2 separate regions of the Homo sapiens genome follow, and region 1 is linked to region 2. Evidence: promoter capture Hi-C in 16 types of primary human blood cells and fetal thymus (Javierre and others, 2016). All regions are on one chromosome and are shown on one strand. Each heading gives the region's core, a stretch centred on a gene start or on the middle of the fragment in contact. The rest is flanking DNA. Distances are from core to core; before and after follow the strand shown. Region 1 overlaps CSNK1G1 (casein kinase 1 gamma 1). Region 2 holds the start of CLPX (caseinolytic mitochondrial matrix peptidase chaperone subunit X).

Region 1 (3,790 bases), core at 725-3,224, 1.0 Mb after region 2:
GTCCCTTTAGCATGCAGAGTAATGGTGATCCCTCCAGAGCCATTGGCACTTCAAAGTGGTCCCAGACCTGGGAGATTCTGGTGGGATCTTCCTTAAAAATAAGCAAAAAACCTGAGTACCCTAGATGCAATTGGCCATTTGTTTCAGGCCCATCAGCGAATCAGGGCTCCCTCCTCAACCCTACTGCTACAGTTCCTTAGCTGTATGCCTCAGCCAGATCCTTGGGGTTAGGGCATGCACTCGCTGACTGTCCCCACCCATCCACTTGCTCTGTAGTTTCTGAGCTTTCTCCATTTCACAAGTATGGTGCCTAACGATCTTTTTCTTTAGGATTGATGCAGTTGTTTTTCCTGAAAGCTAACTCAGCATCTATTCATAAAAACCCTTAATAGTATACATTAGGAGTTTTCCCAAGCTCTACAGTCCCTCAGACATTGCATCCTAAACAGATTTGAGGCACACAGGCCAAGACTCCACCAAGGCATAAATGGTCCCCCCTACTCCCTTTTGACCAGGGTATCACTTGTGTCTCTGCAGTAAGAGTTGGTCAAGTTGCTCTACGCACCTTGGTGCTTTCCAGAGATCTCACTCCAGACTGCCCCCAAGGGTGGATAGAGTATCCTGACAGCCAGTGTGCACTCATGACTGCCTTAATTAACATTCTTCTGCTATTATGGAGCCTGTCCAGCAATAAACAGGGTCTAGGAAGGTACAAGATTAGCTTCCAGTTAAAATCCCATTTTATATTGGAATGCATGAGCTACAGATGACAGCAGAGATCCTGAGGTTTCTAGACATGTTGATTGTCTCTTTTTTCTAAATGAACTCCAAGTACTTAGAAAACAGTCCCTGTCCATCAGCCAGAAAAGGTGACCATCACCCCTAAAGTAATTTCCAAACTTAGTTCAGTGGGAAGATATGCTGGTAGTGCATATTCAGTGTTGATTTTCAGTGCTAGTAACCACTTTTAATGCCAGAAATATGTAACAATGATAATGTAACGTCAAAGTGGTTACTAAAGATTATAGCCTTAACTTTTTTATGTAAAAGATAAAATCCATTCCTCCTCCCAGTGAGCAAGCATGGCTTGCATTTCTCAAAAATGAGAACTTCCATGGCAGCCAAGAAAACGTCTTCTCAGAGGAACTTTCGTTTGATGCATCTCCCAAGCCCACATGCCTCCTGTGTTCCAGCCACCTCTTCCATTTCACATTTAAACCAGCTCTCCATTCCCATTGAGTTGCCCTAACAACATTGTCTCCAGTGTCAGAACCATATTAAGGTTCGTTTCTCAGATTGGGAGCCTGCAACACCATACAGCCAACATTGCCTTTGCCACGCCACTGCCACCATCCCCACCATTGCCCTATGGTGGGCAGATGAATTCCAGAAACCCTCAGGGAGCCAGGATAATTAGGCAACCCATCTGAATTGGCCACGTAAGTGACAGGCACTTATCTCTCGGGTTCTTGCTTTTGCAGACTCCAGGGAAGTCCTGTCTAGAGGTCGATGGCAGAGACTCCTAGTCTTTCCCATGAGGGGTTGATAGGAATCAAATTGGGATTCCTTTGGCTTTGGGTTTTGTTTTTTTGTTGTTGTTTTTGGTTTTCAGTTTGTTTTTTGGTGTATGGGGGGTGATTTTGTTTCTGAATAAGAAAAAGAAGAGGCAACCATGGCCCTTATGTGGGTTTATCCTTTTTGAGCAATGTTTTAGCCACAAGTAAGGAATCTTGAAAGTCTTTTGTCCAGCAAGCAGTCTTAAAAATGTTTTTCCTAACTCCTTTTGCAGGTGACTAAGTACAAAAAAATAGTTTTCTCATTGTATTCAAAATAGTGAGTAGGTTCCCTGGATAATACACAGTGGTAGTTGACATATTTTCTCAAAACACAACCAGAAAACCCACTTCCGGTATTTGTAAATCACCTTTCAAGGGAAAAAGTGAACACGTATTCCTTGTATTTCTAGTTTGATTACCAAACCTGATGTTACAAAGAAACCTCCGTTCTGTAGACAGAATTTCTTTTATTTTTCTTCTTTTACTCCTCACAATCACTTTCCCAGTGCCATCACCATCTATAAGGTCTCAGAGCAGAGGATTATTCATGGTAATAAGTGGGGGTGTGGTGCAGCCATTCCAGTAACACCCACAAGAGGACAGCTGTTCTGAATGTCCCCACCCACCCCTCTTTCAGTACAGGTGAGACATTTTCAGTTCATGAGCTCCAGACCAAATCCCAGGCCAGCCCTTGCACCAAAAGCCTTTTTTAGAAGGCTTATCAGTCTATTAGGAATGTCTCAGGAAAGATGAGCCATTTCTTTGGGGAGAAATATATTTACAGATGGAAGTGTGTGACTGCGTGTCTGTGTGTGTGTGTGGTGTGTGTGCGCACGTGAGTGCGTGTGTTCATCTATGTGCATTTCACTTCCATAAAGACCCAGCCCAAGCTGCTGGGAACCATGTGTTCCTGAGTATTCTCAGAGGTTAAACAAGTGACAAGTGAGCTTCTGAAATTAGTGTCTCAGCAAGCTGGCTTTAGGAATGAGCCCCATTTTATCAAGCAGAGAAAAAAAATAACAGCAGAAAAGATAAAGATAAACCAAAAATATATACCCCCCAATGGAAAATAATGTTGATTCAGCAATTCCCATAGGATGTATTACATGCTCTAATTTATTATATTATTATTTATCTGTCTTTGATCTTTGCCCATTGTACTCTTAAAAAGATGTTGGGATGTTGATTGCGATTTTTAAACAACTAGATAATGTATAAATCAGCAGTGGAAATCAGTTTTAATGTGTGGATGTGTCTGATTATTGTTAAATGCCTCTTTTTTTACTTTTTTTTTTTTTAGATGTATAATGTTTCATAAACCCTGGCACTGGTCACAAAGCTCAGCTGTGAAAATGAAATTTGTAGTATTTTTAAACATGAATGTCAATTTCAAGTGTATTTGAAATGGTTCCTCCAGGAGAGATATTTGTGCACCATTAGGAAAATCTTCTCTGCAGAGGAAGTAGCCTTCTTTGGAGAAAATGGAAAATGGGTTCTGATATGTGATCTCAGAGTAGCCCATTTCCTAGGGCACCATGGAAAACACAAATGTGATCTTTAAGTATACCTCTTCCCCAGTTTGGGGAGGAAAGGACTCAGTTTGCACCCTTTTTGTATGTAAAATAAAATGTCTTACCTTTCTTGGCTACTTCTGCTTGTTTGGTTGGTTGATTGGTTTGTCTGTTTTTAATCTCCCTCGGCTCATTTGTAATTAACAATCTAGCTAGGACTAACTTTGATGCGATTCAAGACTCCTGTGAACAAAAATAATTTGGCATTCTTGTTTCATTCCTTGGATTAAATATTGTCTTCTCCTGTGAGTCACTTCAAAAATAAATACTGCTGTCTCTCTTCGAGTGCTGAAGAAGAAAATTATTTTTTAATTAAAAAAATAAATATTGGCCAGGCGCAGTGGCTCTCACCTGTAATCCCAGCAACTCCGGGAGGCCAAGGCGGGTGGATCATTTGAGGTCAGGAGTTCGAGGCCAGCCTGGCCAACATGGTGAAACCCTGTCACTACTAAAAATACAAAATTAGTTGGGCGTGGTGGTGCACACCTGTAATCCCAGCTACTCAGGAGGCTGAGGCAGGCCAATTGCTTGAATCCAGGAGGTGGAGTTTGCAATGAGCCAAGATCGCACCACTGTACTCCAGCATGGACGTCAGAGCAAGACTCCGTCTCAAATAAATAAATATTCCTGGAAGAATTTGGACATTATCACTCATACGTTAGT
Region 2 (3,788 bases), core at 208-2,707:
GTTATGTGCCTTCAGCTATGTAGTTCGCAAAAAGTAAATAACTCAAGGAGTTAACTCCTCCAGTGTAAACTATTTGAGCTGGAAAACTGCACTTGACTTTCTTTTTAAAGCGTCATTAATCTGTCAGAAAACAGCTGAAAGTAGGTGTGATGTGGAAGGGCTGATGTGACCACAAGTATTTGCCATCACTTTCCTGGTGAAGGATCCATTTTCTCACAGGGATAATCTCAGATGGCTCTGGGTTTTTTTTTTTTTTTTTTGAGACGGAGTCTCGCTCTGTCGCCCAGGCTGGAGTGCAATGGCACGATATCGGCTCACTGCAACCTTCGCCTCCTGGGTTCAAGCAATTCTCCCACCTCAGCCTCCTGAGTAGCTGGGATTACAGGAGTACGCCACCACACCTACCTAATTTTTGTATTTTTAGTAGAGATGGGGTTTCACCATGTGGGTCAGGCTGGTCGCAAACTCCTGACCTCGTGATCCACCTGCCTCGGCCTCCCAAAGTGCTGGGATTACAGGTGTGAGCCACCACGCCCAGCCGGCTCTGTGCTTTTGAATTCATAACTTGAGAGGATGGCCTGATAGGAACCTGACCAGAGGTTATCTATGCAGTGCCATCCTTAATCACGGCCGGGTGCGGTGGCTCACGCCTGTAATCCCAGCACTTTGGGAGGGCGAGGCGAGAGGATCACTTGAGCCCAGGAGTTTGAGACCAGCCTGGGCAACATAGGGAGACCTCATCTTTACTAAATTAAAAAAAAGAAAGAAAGAAAAGAAAACCCTCAAGACTTTAAAGCACCCACGGACTAGCAACAGCTAGAAGCTTTATCACCACGAGGCCTGAAAGAACAAGGAGACGGAGCTGTTACCAACTAACAATTGCTGCTCAGGGAACTAACTGACAATACCAACTCCATGTTACAAGTGATGAAACTAAGGAGAATGAGAAGATAAGGAACACAGGATGTGGAATTCCGGGGGAAGAAATTTAGTGAATCTGAAGCATCCAGCGCCTACCAAGGCACTTTAGAGACTTCCCCCTGGAGGGTTAAGCCACCAGCCTCACCTTGACCTTCCCTGCCGCCCACTAAAAGTGACCGGAAGAGCTCGACTATGACGACTCGGGACTACAAGTCCCGGCATGCATCTCTCCGCGTCTATCGCAAAACCTTTCAACTTTAGGATAAAAGGGCTTTTGGCAACCTTGAGCGTCGGGACCTGTAGTCGCCCCAGTTGGGGCTAGACGCTTGCCGTAGGGAACTCATTGGCGCCCAGGGCACCACCCCCTCGCCTTCGCCTCACGTAGCTTCACCAGCTCGCAAACACGGCGCGTGCCCACGCCCTCCGCCCCCTCCCCGGGCCTAGGGCGCAGGCGCGCGCAAGCTCCCCGGGCCCAGTAGGCTGGGGGTGGGGGTAGAAGGAGAAGGAGGGGAAGGGAGGGGGGGGTTGGGTGTCTACTCTGGTGAATAGACGGCTGTGGGGCAGAGAAGCGTGAAGGCCTGGCTGCCGGGCAGGTGAACTCTCCACGGGGTCTAGGGCCCGCGAAAGGGTTCGGAACCGAGTCAGCGCGCCTTGCGGGCAGGATTCACGCCGCTGTGACCCGGAGGTCCTCAGGGGGCGAAGCCCCGGCCTAGGCCTCGCGGAGATGCCCAGCTGCGGTGCTTGTACTTGCGGCGCGGCGGCCGTCCGGCTCATCACCTCCTCACTCGCCTCCGCGCAGAGAGGTAACGAAATAGTGCCACTCCTGAGCCCTCAGCCTGTCGGGGGGGGGGTGGACTGGCCAATGGTTGGGGGCCCCGGGGAGGGCACGAGGCCTGCTGCACCCGGGGAGTGTGAGGGAATGCGCGGCGCTTCGCCCGGCACCCACCACTTTCCCCGTGGAATGGGGCTCTGCCAACCTCTGGAGCAGCCGTTGCTCAAATTGGAAGTAAACTCCTTCCCACGCGCCTGCCTGCACGCTTTCAGGCCTGCTGACTTTGGGGCCGGAATGCGGCCACTTTGTAGAAACCCTGAAAGGCACAAAATGCTCCTGTTATTAAAAAATGTCTCCAGATCCCACTCAGCCCTGCCGGGGACCGCCGCCTGCCATGGCTGCGGCTCTTCTTCCGCAGCCTGGCCGGGATCCCCCTCGGGCCCGTTGGGGGCTCCAGGAGGGGCTCGGCTGAGGATCTGTCCCTACTAGGGTCCCCCAGGACTCGGGGCACCCAGCTGGCCGTCCCGGACGCAAGCCGCGCGATACCCGAGATGTTACTATCACTGTGCGGCCCTGACACTGGGACATAAACAAGGTTCACAATACTTCCCGGCGTCAGGCAAGCCCCGGGGCCCGCAGGACAGCGGCGGGAGAGATGGGGAGAAGTCCCGCAGGAGTTGGTTCGGAAGTACTTGGGTGTTTCAGCAGTCCTTTGCTGGCTTTCCCAACTTGACCGGGAGGTAGTTTCCTAAGAGTGGCGCATGTTGTTTACCTTTTCTTTCTGTTTATCTGAAGCTGTGAAAGAATGGCGCCCCAGCCAAGAGAGTCTGGAAAATAAACTTTTTTTCTCTTCCTCAAATCTGTGGAAGTCAGACCACGAGGCTAGATCCTGTTATAATGACTGACTTCTAGACAAATTCGTTTTATTTTGGCTTATCGGTTTATGACCCTTGGATGGATTTTTAAAAAGGCCCCTTTTATCTAACTTCTAAGCCAATTATAAAATCCTTATTGTTTACTAAATATATCTTCCAGTTTCTTTACTACAGAAGGAAGGATTGAATGAGGTAACGTGGGCAGAAGCATTTTGTAAAATGATATATAAATGTAAGGGAGTAAATTTAATCCTAAATCGATGTTAAGCCTCAACCAGTAGATGTCCCGATTCCAGGAATTCGATTTGCAAACACTTTAAAGTGACATATTTTAATCCATTTATCTGATATATATTAATATTTGTCAAGGGTCCACTGTGTGTCAGGCCTTCTTTTAGTGCTGGAGGTAGAGTGGTGAATAAGTCCTCACCCTCATGTTTAAATCTAGTGGAGTAGACAAAGAATAATACAGTTTCCAGTGGGTGGATGAAGTATGTGTGTGTTCCCTTTGGTCAGGGACGGCTTCTTTGAAAGTGTTACTGATCTCTTGTAGCCAAGAGTCCGTGAACATTTTTGAATCATAGGAGATAGGCAGTTATTTTTTTTTCTTTTCAAAACGACTGTTTTCTTTCTTTTTCTTTTCTTTTCTCCTTCCTTCCTTCCTTCCTTTCCTTCCTTCCTGTCTTTCTTTCCTTTCTGTCTTTCTTTCCATCTACTATCTGTCTTTCTGTCTGTCTTATTTTCTTTCTTTTTTTTTTTTTTTTTTTTTTGAGACAGAGTCTCGCTCTGTCGCTCAGGCTGGAGTGCAGTGGCCAGATCTCAGTTTACTGCAAACTCCGCCTCCTGGGTTCACGCCATTCTCCTGCCTCAGCCTCCCGAGTAGCTGGGACTGCAGGCGCCCGCCACCACGCCTGGCTAATTTTTGTATTTTTAGTAGAGACGGGGTTTCACCGTGTTAGCCAGGATGGTCTCGATCTCCTGATCTTGTGATCCGTCCGCCTCGGCCTCCCAAAGTGCTGGGATTACAGGCGTGAGCCACCGCGCCTGGCCTCTTTTTGTGTGTCTGTCTTGATGGAATCTGCTAAGTTGCCCGGGCTGGAGTGCAGTAGCGCGATCTCGGCTCACTGCAACCTCCGTCTCCTGGGTTCAAGCAATTCTTCTGCCTCAGCCTCCTGAGTAAGCTGGGGTTACAGGCGCGCGCCACCACGCCCCACTAATTT

Evidence for each region. Contacts are between HindIII fragments. The CHiCAGO score rates a contact against its expected background, and 5 or more counts as called.
Region 1: a contact is called between a fragment that was not itself captured here and the fragment with the promoter of CLPX in region 2, in 1 of 17 cell types (fetal thymus). The highest score is 9.3, in fetal thymus.

Annotation. Positions count from the first base shown.
Region 1 is chr15:64,165,147-64,168,936 of GRCh38, reverse strand. CSNK1G1 (casein kinase 1 gamma 1) reads left to right here. Exons shown (of 12, transcript NM_022048.5): 12 at 1-3,412. Among named protein-coding and RNA genes, the nearest start is that of PPIB, 4.0 kb to the right of the region's middle. The HindIII fragment of the contact is 7,083 bases long and covers 1-3,790 here.
Region 2 is chr15:65,183,011-65,186,798 of GRCh38, reverse strand. It overlaps CLPX (caseinolytic mitochondrial matrix peptidase chaperone subunit X), which reads left to right and starts at 1,457. Exons shown (of 14, transcript NM_006660.5): 1 at 1,457-1,724. The coding sequence starts at 1,646. RefSeq lists a silencer at 1,209-1,518 and an enhancer at 940-1,824. The HindIII fragment of the contact is 3,137 bases long and covers 826-3,788 here.